Regions from separate parts of the Homo sapiens genome. Here region 1 is linked to region 2. Evidence: promoter capture Hi-C in human tissues and cell types (Jung and others, 2019). All regions are on one chromosome and are shown on one strand. The core of a region is centred on a gene start or on the middle of the fragment in contact, and the rest is flanking DNA. Distances in the headings are between cores, read along the strand shown.

Region 1 (7,565 bases), core at 90-2,589, 170 kb after region 2:
TGAGAGATGCTAAGTAAAATCCCTGAGTCTATGAGGCTCCCTGTGTCCAAGTACTTCAAAATGAAATGAGAGATTATAGAGTATTTTCAACTCAAGGAAGATAAAATTGAATGCACATATAATGATCCTATGCTATATGTGATTAAATATGACTAAAGTGACTTTTGCTTCACAATTGTTAGTTTAAAAGAAGTCAAACAGAAAATTAGTTTGAGCAGGGATAAATATTTGCAACATATAATAGATGAATGGTTAGCATATGAAGAGTTCTTATAAAGTAATAAGATGATTGATAAATACTCCAGGAGAAAATGAGCTGAGTTGATATACAGCCAAATCAAAAAATGCAAGTGATCAATAAAAGACATGGAAAAGATTAAACATTTAAACTATCTAATTAAACTATCTAATAATTAAAGAAATGGCCATGACAACATCTTTCAGATTAGGAAAGATTTAAAAGATTGATAGAACTTCAGTAGTAGGAAAATAGATCCTCTCATGCAATGTTGCTGCATTGCTGGTAAAATCTTTCCGGATTGGGCAGTGTATTTCAAAAGTAAAGTTATCATATCTTTTAACCCAGTAACTTTATGTTCTGGGATTTATGTTAAATAAAAAAGTGAATAAGTATGAAAATAATTGTCTACAAGAATATTCATCAGAGCCTTCTTTATAATAGTGGAAACTTGAAAACAACCTACATTTCCATCATAGAGGTCTAGTTAAATAAAGTATAGCATATCCTTATAAAGAAATATTATTAAGTATTAAAACTGATATTATACAAAACCCTGGAAACAACTGAAATGTCCAATAGTCAGGCCAATTTTAGAACATTACCATCACACCAAAATCTATAATTGGGCATTATAGTATGACCGTATATTAGAAAACAAGGCAGCCATTAAAGAGAATTCAGTATATGTAGATGTGCTGACATGGAATGATTCCCAATTTATGGTTTTAAGTGAAAAAGCAAAGCAAGGGGAAAGATGTGTGTGTATGTGTGTGTGTGTATAATTTTTTTTTTGAGACGAAGTCTTACTCTGTCACCCAGACTGGAGTGCAATGGTGCGATCTCGCCTCACTGCAACCTCTGCCTCCCGGGTTCAAGCAATCCTCCTGCCTCAGCCTCCTGATAGCTGGGATTACAGGTGCTCACCATCATACCCAGCTAATTTTTTGTATTTTTAGGAGAGACAGAGTTTCACCATGTTGGCCAGGGTGGTCTCAAACTCCTGACCTCAAGTGATCCACCCGCCTTTGCCTCCCAAAGTGCTGGGATTACAGGCATGAGGCACCGCACCGGGCCAATATATACATATATTTATATATAAAATTTTCCTGGGTGTTTTACAAAAAGGGCAAACATATGTATATATTACATTGGATAGAGTATTTCTGGAAGGATTCATTAAAAATCTTTTAACAGTGGTTGATCCTAGGGTTGAAGAAAGTCTTGCTATTTTTTATGTTTAGGAAGTACAGAACATAGAGAAAAGTATATAAAGCATAAAAATAAAGCTTAATAATTTGTCACAAAGGAAACATCCTCGTAACCACCATCAAGGTTAAGAAATGAAGCACTTAGAATCAGAGTGGAATGATGGTTGCTGGTGCAGGGTGAGGTGGATGGGGAGTTACTAATCAACTGGCATAAAGCTTCAGTCAAACAAGCTGGACAAGCTCTAGAGATCTGCTCTACAACATTGCACCTATAGTCAATGATAATGTATTATACATTTAAAATTTTGTTAAGAGGGTAGATCTCATGTTAAGTGGTCTTGCCACAATAAAAGAAAAAGTAATGAACCTCTGCCAGCACTCTAGAAGGTCTCTTCATGTCTCTACCTAATCATTTCTCTTCCCTAATTCCCAAAGGCAGTCATTATACTGAATTCTACTAATTTGCTAAGAGTTTTTATCATGAATGCATGATAAATCTTATCAAACTCTTTCCTTTATATATCAAGATGACATGTTTTACTGTTAATATGGTAAATAACACTGATTTTTAAATGATAAACCAACCTTAAATTCTTAGAATAAACTCATCTTGGCCACAATGTATTAGCCTATAATATTACCAGATTAAATTTGTGAACATTTTGTTCAGAATTTTTTGTATCCAATGTCATGAGAGAGATTGACCTGTAATTCTCTTTTCTTGTGATGTCCTTGTCAGGTTTGGTATCAAGCTATCACATTTGGTTTGGCAGAAAGGTTTTACTGGCCTCATAATACAAGTTGGGAAGTGTTCTTTGTTTTCGTATTCTTTGGAAGAATTTGTATATGCTACTTTTGCATGACATTTCCATTTTTATGTTAATCTAATCTCCCTACTGAAATTATAAACTTCTAAGGCCCAAAGACTGTATCTAAGTTTTCCTATATCCTGAGAATCCAACCGTTTGCTTTGGATATAGTAGGATTTCAAAAAAATATCATTATAACTTTGACAAAGAGTATAAAATCTGTCAACTTATTTAAAAAATCCAATTCACATTAATTATATACATGAAAATGTATAATTTACTTCCCTGTCTTTTAGGACATCAGAAGGATCACAGAATGTTAGGGCTGGACCTCATCTCCAGGGTTTTCCGATGTCTATGATACTGATTATATCAGACAATATGGTATAATTACATTATACCATAGGTAGCAGCATGGCTGAATAGAAAAGTATCCATTTTGGATCAAAAATATGTGAGCTGGAATCCAGACAACTCCAGTTACATGTGATTTGTCTTTGGTGACATTATATAAATTCTCTGAGCCTCATATTTTCCTCTGCAAAATTGAAATAGTAGTAAAACTTATTTACAAGACTACCACAAAGTTAGAGTTGATGTGCATAAAACATCTAGGTGCTTAACAGTAATTTTTTTAAAAAGACATCTTTTACTCTCATGAAAATTCTAACATAAAACTTTAAAGTCATATTTTGCAGTAATAACCTCCAAATCTTTGTGTCTCCAATACTGCAGTGCATGCTTTAACCAGTCTCATTTATTAACCTTTTCTCTTTGAATCACTTTCTTCTCCACACAATATGATTTGGCTCCTTACTCTTCCCATGACCACTGTTAGAAATGCTTGTTCCCCGGTGCCATAAAGAAATAGCACTTGAACATAAATTTAATTTCCTCAGCAAGGCCATTTTTACTTTCTGCAGAAAGGGTACACTCGCCAGCAGTTTTACCACAAGAGTACACCAAACAAAGGAGACAGAGTCATTTATAACCTGACGCGTCCACCCTACTGCTATGTCCGGTTTCCATTGGCTAGTACGGGACCTCACATTCTGTATTTGTCCCAATTGGCTAGCAACTTAGAACTTTTTAAAAGAGGCACGGGCAGACGAGAACAAAGGAAGGAGGAAGTAACTTGTGGAATGCTGAGAAAGGTAAAAACACCTCCAAATAAGGAAGAGGAACAGGCTATAACCTAATGCCCGCTTGGACCAGTATAAGCATGCCAGGGCAAATATTTAGGCTAAATTGTGGGAGCTAAGAACATAAAGTACATTGATTTCTTTATTAGAGCTAGCAGATATTTAAGAATGTTAGCACAGCTCTTTGAATAAATTTTGCTTCTAAGAGAAGTACTATTTATTCCTAATTAGACAGGGAGGAGAGTCTCTTTGAAAAGGAACCTCTACTTTACTTTTTATACCACCAATACAGTCAACAAAACTTCATACAATTACAAAAACTTCCCTGACTACTAATTTATTTTCCTACCTTACCTATTTTCTTGCTAAACTCTTTCCCTGAACTTCATCAAAATCTCCTATCAGGAAGGTCAGAGAACTGTAGGTATTAAGCCAGTTTAACTGAGTCATCCTTGTGAAGTTAAAGGAAGAACTATTCTCACCCTTATTTTAGAAACAGAAACTGAGGCATAGGGAAGTTATCACAAGTTACAGAGCAAATTGGCCACAGAGGGGACAAAGTTAAGTCAGTCTTTCATTGTCTTCCTTACTCTATCAAATATTAGTCTGGGAGTCAGCATAGGTAACTCTTGACCAAGATGGCTACCATAACCTCTGTGAAACAGAAATGCATGAAAATAAATGAGAAACACTTCTGAATTTGGTAGGGGGGTTATCTATCCTTGTATTTTCATCTTTAAGTTATGTTCAATGCACACAACTGATGTAGTAGGTAAAGGCTATGCACATATGTGTAGTACTTAATATCACTTGCATTATTCCAGTTAATTATTTGAATACTGTGTAACACTTAACTTATTGTAGGGTGCAAGTCAAAATCTGGAGGCCTTGAAACACAGTCACTGAGTAATAACGATTTAAGGATCACAACAAAAGTTCAAAACACAACTAGGCATACATATTAATTTGTAGCAACAGTGGTTTCATTTGAAACCACTTGCAAACAGTGACACACACTCCTCAAATCTGCTGTTCCCTAATTATGCTTGTTTGCCTTCGTTTACGCTAAAGGTAAACAAGTATTTAGCCTAGGAAAGAAAACGGAAAAAAAACCCAGAAGTGACCCAAACAACGTCTGCAAAGACAAATAGCTTAGTGTCACATCACCCAAGTGAATCCAAACTACTCAAAATCATTAAAGAAATGATTCAGTCTCCAATCCTACTCCTAAAAAAGGATACAACCAGAGGATCTCTTTTAATTGACAAAACTACGTGAATGGTTTTGTATTTACATTATTAACCTAAAACTTAGAACACATTTAAACACAGGCCACCCAGAGCTAACACTATAGCTTCCTGGTTTTTGTACCAGTGAGCACATGGCTTCAGTCCATGTTCAACACCTAATTAAGAGATTCTTTTCAAAGCTTGTATTCTGGATTTACCATCTTTTCAGAGGCCATACTGCTGCAGTTCATTAGCACTCAACATCTGGCTGGAATGGTTTAAACTACTATTTTCCTTAACCATTATATGGATGAGGTTTTGTTATTCTAAGCAAACTGAAACAATGTCCTTATGTGGACTTCTAAGCATAATAATTAGTGACAGTGCAAATTGGTTTCTGATTTTTCTTATACCATGTAACAAACTATTAAAACATTCAAATCATAGTTTATATAATTTTGAGATCCTTTTCATTTTATAACATAGACATGTCTTTATTCTTTAGGCACAAGGTCTTATTCTGAAGGCCAAGAAATATTTCACTGAAATGCAGCTATATGTGAAGAAAAATACAGCCTTGTACTTTCTCAAGGAAACAGCACTTGTAAACTCAGAAAAGTGAAAATGTGGACATATTTGGCACAGAACTTTGAACATTCCACTTACTCTGTTTATGAACCTTAGAGGTCTCCAGTACAGAACAGGTTTCAAACTTCAAAAACACTCCCCTGAAAAGAGTATCAACCCCTGTCTATATAACTAATTTGCCCCTGAAATGAAGTTAAGTAAATCTGTTCAGGGACTTAAGCAACTAGAAAGCATCCCTGTAGTCAAAAAGTTTTAAAAGGAATTTCATGAGGCTGCAAGAGAATTTCTAGGCCTTGGCTGACACATATTTTAAGTCTGGCTCAGAGAACTGTTAAAATACACTTATGGGTTCACTCTGCCTGAAATGCCCTTGGGCCCCTCCCAGTGCTTTGTTTCCCAGCCTTTCCTTCCTTTAACATTTTCTTAGAACTCACCAATTACTTGAAACTGTCCCTGTTTAACTTCACCAAGGAGACATTATTTCAACCTCTTTATTCATTTACATATAAAATACCTTACACTTTGTATGAGATAGATGGTCAGTTAATAAATCTTCTGTTACTATTCCACTATATGCATTTAAGTTCCATAAGGGCATTGACCATTTGTCTTCCTTCCTTCTTTTCTTTTTTCTCTTCTCTTTTCTTTCTTATTGTTTCCTCTCTTGCCACTGTCAGGGGTATGGTATAATACTCCCAGGTAAAAGAACTTAATCCATGTAAATCACATCTTGCCATCCCCAGCTCACAGCCCTCCAAAGGTTTTCCATTACGCTTAGAATGAAAGCCAAAGAAGATGCTACACACCATGGCCCTTGACCAACTCTCTCAACTCACCTCCCACCTCTCCCCGCTTCTGTCTCACCACACCCCAACCACAGGGACCTCTTATTCCTGAGACATGACAAACTCTCTTTCACCTTAGGGCTTTTGCACTTGCTGTTCCCTCTGACACTCTTTCTCAGCTGCTCACTCCCTAAGGTCTCTGTTCAAATGTCCTCTTCTCGGAGAGAACTTCTCCTAACTCCCTAGATAAAATATACAATTTCCCTTAACTACGGCCTAGCTGATATTATATATTTATTTGTATAGCTCTTCATTATCTTTCTCATACCATCACTTCTGCCAATATGGAAACTCCATAAAAGCAGGGGCACTTCACTGGTTTTATTCACAGTTGTATTTCCAGTGCCTAGAACAACGCATGGCATATAGTAGGTATTCAACAAATGCCACTGAATCACTGCTTTCAAGTGGTAGGTTAGGAAGTTTATCTGTCTTCTTCTCTTGAAAGCACTCCTCACAAATCCAGTATTATACATGTTATTCTGGGCTTCCCAATACAGGATTCTTGATGCCATCTAAGAGATTCCCCAGGTTCCCCAGTGAACTATAACTCTCAAAGGAAGGTTTTATGTCCAATTCATATTCTGGGTAACTCAGAATCATGTAAATTGTGTTTTTGACAAAATGCCAGAGATATCCACATACAAGAATTCTCCCCTACCCCACTATTCCCAGCTGGCTCTTTCAGTCTTCATCAACCAAGATAATATGGGTTTTCTCTTCCTTAGACTTCAGTATGGGGGATGCAGCTCAACCCTATACTTCTCTACTGTACCTCCCAGATCCTCCAAAGTGGGTTTTCTGAATATCACCTGCTCAGTCTACAACCTCATGAATTCAAAATCTACTCCCAACCCCACACCAGCAGAGGGAGGAATTTGTGGATAGATGCTAGTCTAACACACCTTACTACCCAAGACTAGCTTTTAGAGTTGCAACCTGTTTCCCAAGTAGGCCAGCTATTTCTATTCTAAGATTCCTAAGAGGCACTTGGTCCTTTCTTCTTGGCCTCCAAGGACAACTCCAAGAACAGACAGAAACTGGACATCAGAGCAACCCAAATCCCATTCTTACAAAATACAGGCATATCTTGTAGAACACCTCAGCAACTAACATTTTCTTGGCGAAAGATTTTTGATACCCAAACTTCATAGAATGTTCATATCTCTCAAAACAACACTTTCTGAAAGGTGTTTATATAGGAAAACATACATATTTACACCCTAAAACCTAAACACAACATTGTTAACAAAATAGTATGCAGAGTACTGAAATACCAGGTGTCAATACAGAAGACATACCGGTATCACTATATAAAGTAACTGCTTGTTAACAACCATATTAATTGTTTAATGTTCAAGAAAATTGGTTTAAACATTTTTCATGCTACTTCTGTGTGACTTATATAAAGAAAGCTTTACTGTATTTTTGTAACATTGTAGGAAATTAGTTAGAGGTTTTGAGTTGAGGAATAATGCATTATACTTTTTCCTATTTTAAAAA
Region 2 (7,120 bases), core at 2,282-4,781:
ATTGTGACATTCTAATTTATAACAATATAGGGCGACTTCCTTTTTTTTTCTTTTGTGCTATAGAATTGGTGTTAGAGGAGATGGTTTACAAAATTGGCTTTAGGGTTACTCAAAGTTAGCACTAAATTGTATTTCAAACTATAAAATAATTTTAGCATTTTATGCATGTGTACTACCTGAGTTTCATTGTTTCAAGAAATTTTAACACAAACAAAATAAAATTTACATATGCAAATGTATTCCAGTTGAAGATATTGTTGATCCTAAATAATTATGCATACTATTCATTTTCACTGGATTTTACATCTACTTTTTTGCTTTTTCATTACTTGGTAAAAGGATTCAAAAGGAGTAGTCAGCATGTAGAATTCCACAGTTAAGGTTTGGTAACCTTATTGCTATAATTTGAAATTAGTTCTGACAGCTTATCCTATTACTTTCATCTCATTCGTTGTGTGAGATAATTATACAATGGGTATTTAGGTTTCTTTATATTTATGAAATATATTCTGCGGTTTAAAATAGAATAGACTATAAGAACTGGAAAGTATCATGGAAATCATCTGTACCTATCCCACATTTTATAGATGAAAAATTGAGGGTCAGAAAAACAAAGAAATTGTCCCCAGATCATTCGTAGACAGGGAGTTGCCCCATGTGTCATAATTTTTACCTAGGCTCTGTCGTCTCCACCAGGTTTTATTATCCATGATATTATTATTGATATATATTATCCATGATAATATATAATATTGTTATTATATCCATGATATTATCCATGATAAATCTGAGCAACTTTTAAATAAATTAATTATAAGCCAAATTCTGTTGCTTATATAGAAGTAGATATCAAAAAAATTTTCTCCAAATAGTCATTTCCTTAGATAAACTTTAGTATAATAAGAATGATCTTCTAGAACTAACATGATACCTTTATTAATCTCAGTAATAATAATAAATAATAATAATAAAACCATAACTGTCCAGTCATTAAAATGGCCTTAACATTCTATATCAATTATGGTTAAAAAGAAGGTCTTCTCATTTTCATATTGGAAACATAATTCTCTGAAATTCCCATTGATTGGTTGATTAGTTCAGAACCCTAAAAGTCATTCAGTAAACAGGCAACAAAAGTTTGAGTAATTGCTGCAAGCCTGGCACTGTGATTTGCACATGTTTACACCAGTCTCCCCATGCATTCTTTTTCAAATGACTTTAAAACAATTAATATGAAATTATATATTAATAACAATGTTTTCTGAGTGCTAGTAATGTAAACAAAATTTATTTTTACTAAGTATTTTAAATCCTTAATGTACATGTTGAGGTGTGTATCTTATTCCATTACATTTAATACTATTGAAGTTGGTTATTCATCATAACCATTAAATGCAAAACACAACCCTGATATTTTAACATAAGAAGAATAACTGATTCTTGGGAAAAATGTAAGGCTTTAAATTGAAAAACATGGAATTACCATCTCTTCCAGCCCACTTTTTTCCCCTCACCTTTACATTTTTCTTAAGATAGCACAGAACTTTTATGACATAAAAGATTTAGTTAAGGAAAACGTTAGGAGAGATCTGTTTTTCTGCCTAAGTTGATAAGTCATCAACTTAATACAAGCTCATTATGACTCAAATGAATAAGGATACCACAGATTCCCTTCTATTTTATCATTATACACAATTGCAAAGGAATGCATATCTTAGCACAGATTAAGTATTTTAATTTACATCATGAAAATATTATTTCAAAGAAAATCAAATTAATAAAAATAATTTCCCTACTCTTTAAACTAGTGATAAATAGCTTTTAGTGATAATTTATGAAGTTCTAAATTAGATATCTTAATGAGTTTTGCTTAGACAATATTAAGTCACATTTTGGTGTGAATAATATTATTTACATTTTGCTTAACTTATGAGCATTTTCAGGACAAGGAGTATATATTTTCAAATTGGCTTGGATTATCAGGTCCAACTATAATGTAAGTAGATTTGCCCTGTTAAAAGAGATATTTTTAGGGGCATAGTTCAACATAGTTCAATTTAGAGAAATTAGGTGACATTTTATTTAATTTTTTTTCCAAGAAGCAAAAGGAAGATGAGAAAACATATCACCTGAAAATTGATCCATTAACAGATTGCTAAGGTTCATGAGCAGTACTTAAAATTACTTACTGTAATTATTCTTCATCTCTTGGGTCCCTTTTACTTTGCCTCTTTTATCGATCCTCAGGTACCACTGTGTTCGACAGAAGAGTCTTCTCACTCTTATATCCCCTCCTTCCATGTAATCATAACTTCTTGTGTGTCGCTCAGGGCTGGAACAGTTCACATTTGTAGCCATTTGCTCTGGAGTCATGTCATTGCAAGCTAAAGATATAGTACCCACTAGACAGATAATGTGAAAGCATGATCTGTAGAGCAAAGTTGGCAGGATCCATGTCAGTATCCATTTGTGCATTATAGTGTAGTGCTCCGGGTGTTCATGAATAACATAATGAAAATGAATCTTGAGTTGATTGTTACTCCTAGGTCATTGACCTCTTCCTATCTGTGAATTGTAGATTGATTTAAGAAAGAGTAGTTGCTCTTTCCAAATTGTTAGCCTTATCCTTTTAGTTCCTGATAACAACACAGGATTCCTCCTTAAATAACTCTGTTGATAAATCCTCATAAAAACAGTTCGTAGTAAGTTCAGTTGCTGTGACGCTGTTTGCTATTTGACTTCTGTTTGCAATGAGAGATTAAGAATAGGGAGGGGAGGAGAGAGGAAGATAAAAAATTGTATGTGTAAATTTTAGTGGGTAAGTAGTAGCATTAGAATACAGTATAGGTTATTCTTTGAAGATACATTTAAAACAGCCTTCACAGAGGATGTCAAAATCTTTACCACTTTATGTGTAGATTTATAAAATTTATGCATGAGTAGAGACAAAACAGAATATGACTGTACCATTCATTCCAATTGCTATTTTGTGAGAACCATACTGCACTCAGAACTATTGATTTAAATTAAGTTTTTACAATTACTGCTAACAAAGTGTAACTGCTTTCTCCCTAGACTTCTTTATTATATGCTTTTACATTTGTGGTTAATCAATTATTTTCTCCTGAACTGCCCAGGTTTTTTAAGTTAAATGTCAGGATTGCTCTGGAGAACTTCAACCTTATCTTTATGTTCTACAGCATAATTACTATAGTTACATGGCTCAAAAATCTTGTAACTTTACTTTCCTGCTCAGTACTAAAATCAGAAAAAGAGATAAACTTTTAGAAAACATTCAGCATTGTTTTAAAAGACAAATAACAGTAACTTACTTGTTTTGTTGCTAACAGCTGGATATATAAGAATTCCATGTCTGTTGTCTGCCTGGTGCAACTTGAGCCTTTCTACTGTAGCTACAAACTATTTCTCAGCTGAAAAGTTCTCCAGCAGAATCATAATTGTTTCCATAAATCAACAGGCAGAAGGATTTTCTCTCTGTGTGTGAGCGCGTGTGTGCTTGTGTGTGTGTGTGAGCCTTTTATTCAGGGCTTTTCGATAAATACCTTTGCTGACCTCATTGGAAGCAATTAAAACTTAGCCAGTGAGCTGTTAGTTGAATACAACAGCGAGAATAAAAGGAGGCTTGTATAGTATTCAATGGTCATGAGAGGGAGCTATGAACATGTTTTATGCTTAAATCTACAAGTGGGTACCTACTTTGTAGAAACAGATCTCTGGTTCTGAAGCAGTTAGAAGGGGAAAGGGAATTTTTTAAACCTTCTTTGCAATATAGCAGTTGTATTATACTTGGAAAATTATTCATTTGAACATATATATAGGGTTTTTTAATACTTAGAAAATCTTTTCCATAGCTTTATGATACATGCATTTCTTCAATTACTTCTTTGTGCTCAGAATGTTAGAACAAAACTGGTATGTGTTAACTAACATATGAGTGCCTTAAAGCACTGTGTAGATAAGTTGAATATTATCACATCATACAGAGACAATTCATTGAATATGAATATAAGTACAATTTTTATGTATTATATTCCTAGGCTGAAAGTGAGAAGATCTAGATTCTTATTTGTGTTGGACCACTAATGACCAGTATGACTTCGGGCAAGTTACCTGCTGTTCCAGAGTCTCAGCTGCTACATTTGTAAAATTGGTGTATTGGTCTAATGCCTCTATGGTGCTTTACAATTCTGTGATCTGTGACTTATACTCACTACTAATATAAGGAACAGGGCACCTACTTTTAAAAGCTGTTATTCTTTAAAAAGGAGGAAATGGTTTCACATTGATTATCAGTGTTTGATTTTTGCCTCAATAAGAATATTGGAACAATAAATGTTAATTTAGAGATGGAATTATAATATGTATTGCTAAGGTAAATAAGTGAAAGCTATTTTACTTTCCAGCATGAGTTCTCTCCTTTACTTCCTGTTCTGTTATACATGAAGTAGTGCTCAAGTGTTGTATTAGATTCTTGGTGTAGAATAATTGTGTTGTCTATCTAAATCAGTATTAAGAAAGTATATTAAAATTATCTTTTTCATGTTATATACTCCTCAAAACACACACGCGTGCACGCGCGCGCGCGCGCACACACACACACACACACTCTCTCTCTCTCTCTCTCTCTCTCTATGTGAAATGCACTACTTTACCACCAGGTGGTGCATGTAGACCAAATAGGAAAAGGAAATTAAATCTACTCAACTGGATTATAGTTTATGTGATTTCTCTTTGTATCTGTCCCTTTAGGGAACAGAATGAAGAGCACAGAATAGTTCAGATGTACCCAGTTACTCTTCATATGCCAAATGTTGAATGTTCCACATTTATTAAAGCAGAGGGGGACAGACTCTTTGATCATTGCATCTGTTGAAAGCTAGAAAGCTGAAAACATCCTATCATGTATTCTCTAAAAGGAGGAAGAGAAGGAGGAAAGAAAATATAATGTTATTGTGTTCTGAATCACACTCCGCTAGTTTGGGAGGTAACAATAATGAGCAGGCTCAGAATTCCTAGGACTTAGATATTGCTTCTAAAGAAATAAAAGTTATCAATAGTAAGTTTACAGTGTAAAGATATTCAAGAGCTACTAAATCCATTTGTTCCATACTGAACCTACAGTTTTTAAACCAAGAAATCAGTAAGTGAGAAGTCCACATTTGCTAACTAAGTGCTAAATACTTAAATGAAAGAAATGGATAGTTTGTTAGCAAAGAGTGCTTAGTGCCTCCTTAATATCTGCTACATAGGATTAACTGTAAAATGGGAAACAAAAGAATAAAATTGTGATCTATGAAAGTGCATTAGATGCTATTACACTCTGTAATTTGGAAATATGATCCAAGTAATATTAATGAACAGATTAATATCAACAAGGGAACTGTATCAATGGTTTAAATTCTTTGATTATCATTTTTATTGGAGAATTATTAATTCAGGATGGGCCCACAATTCATTAGGACCACAGCTATAATGGAGAACCAAACTTAGATTTCACTGTGCCCTTATTATGCTTATGCTTCTAAATGAATTCTCCAGGAACTAAGAATAACTTTAGGCAACTGTAGATGGGGTAACCCTCTGGATGTTTTAAGTTATACATTGGCAACCGTTTGTTGCTCTTGTTTTAATAGACCTATAGTGATAGATTAAGCACAGGAATACTTTGAACTATTGTCTTTTTTTTGTTATTTGTAGATTGAATTTTCTTTTTTAACACACCATTGCTGGCTTCAAAGAATTAACTGGCCCAGCATGGTGGCTCACGCCTGTAATCCCAGCACTTTGGGAGGCCGAGGCGGATGGATCACAAAGTCAGGAGATCGAGACCATCCTGGCTAACACAGTGAAACCCCGTCTCTACTAAAAATACAAAAAAATTAGCCGGGCATGGTAGCGGGCGCCTGTAGTCCCAGCTACTCGGGAGGCTGAGGCAGGAAAATGGTGTGAACCTGGGAAGCAGAGCTTGCAGTGAGCAGAGATCGCACAACTGCACTCCAGCCTAGGTGACAAAGCGAGACTCCATCTGAAAAAGAAAAACAAAACTTTGCCTCGTTCATAATCATGTATAATATAATCAGTAGAAGGGAACATAATTAAATATTTTCATTACTTTTCATTCTTACATCTTATTCTGTTCCATATCCTGTCAGTTTTCATTCTTCCCCAAAACATAGATAATTCTTTTTATTAGTTTCTTGTGTATCTTTTCAGAGTTTCGCTATGCTTGTACAGGCAAACTGGATACATATGTTTGTGTGTATATGTATATACACATACATATTATTTTTTACTTTTACCCTTTTTATACAAAAGGTAGCACGTCATATGCATTTTTTTGTATTTTTTTTTAACAGAAAAATCTTCCTATCTCATTATTTAGGAAGCTTCTCACATTTTTGTTTTTGTTATAGCTACAGGGTATTCCACCGAATGGGTATATCACAGTGTATTTGAGCAGCCTCCTATTGAGGAACATTTAATTTTCTTCAGTACTTTTCTATTACCAAAGAAATGCTGTAATGAATAAAGACAAAATATGTCATTTTATACTACGAAAATAAATCTATAGGATCAATTTCCAGAAGTAGACTGCCTGGGACAAAAGGTATTAAAAAAAAGATATTGCCAACTTATCCTCCACAGAGGTTGTGCTAGTTTTATAATCCCACCAGCAGTAGGTAAGAGTACTCATTTATTTCAAAAAATTTATTGTGAAAACATTTGGAGTTTTATTAGTCTGACAAGTGAAAATGCCATTAAATTGTAGTTATCCTTTGCATTTCTCTTCTTATGAGAGAAGGTAACCATCATGGACAAGTGCTACAAAGAAAAGATACATAGTGCCATGAGTATCTATAATAAGTGGCAATATGTAAGCTTTCCCTGCAAGAATTCCACTAAAGCTGCAACTTTACAGCATGAATGGGAGTTAACCAGGTGAAGAGGTACTATACAAAAATAAAAAATAAAAAAATAATAATAATAAAAAAACCTGTCCTTTTCACAGTGAAACACAGGTTTGGTCCCAGTAGAGAGAATGAGAAGGGACTGTGGTGCATGAAGAGGTTGGAGAGGCAGGCAGGATCTCCATGTGTTT

The links. Contacts are between HindIII fragments. The study calls those that stand out against the background at their distance.
Region 1: a contact is called between a fragment that was not itself captured here and the fragment with the promoter of FGF7 in region 2, in 1 of the 25 tissues and cell types used here (H1 embryonic stem cells).

What each region holds. Positions count from the first base shown.
Region 1 is chr15:49,245,734-49,253,298 of GRCh38, reverse strand. All of the region lies in intron 5 of GALK2 (galactokinase 2), which reads right to left. Among named protein-coding and RNA genes, the nearest start is that of GALK2, 79 kb to the right of the region's middle. The HindIII fragment of the contact is 3,816 bases long and covers 1-3,247 here.
Region 2 is chr15:49,419,653-49,426,772 of GRCh38, reverse strand. It overlaps FGF7 (fibroblast growth factor 7), which reads right to left and starts at 3,531. Exons shown (of 4, transcript NM_002009.4): 1 at 3,333-3,531; 2 at 2,190-2,741. The coding sequence starts at 2,475. The region is part of intron 11 of FAM227B (family with sequence similarity 227 member B); the gene reads left to right. The HindIII fragment of the contact is 10,247 bases long and covers 1-6,654 here.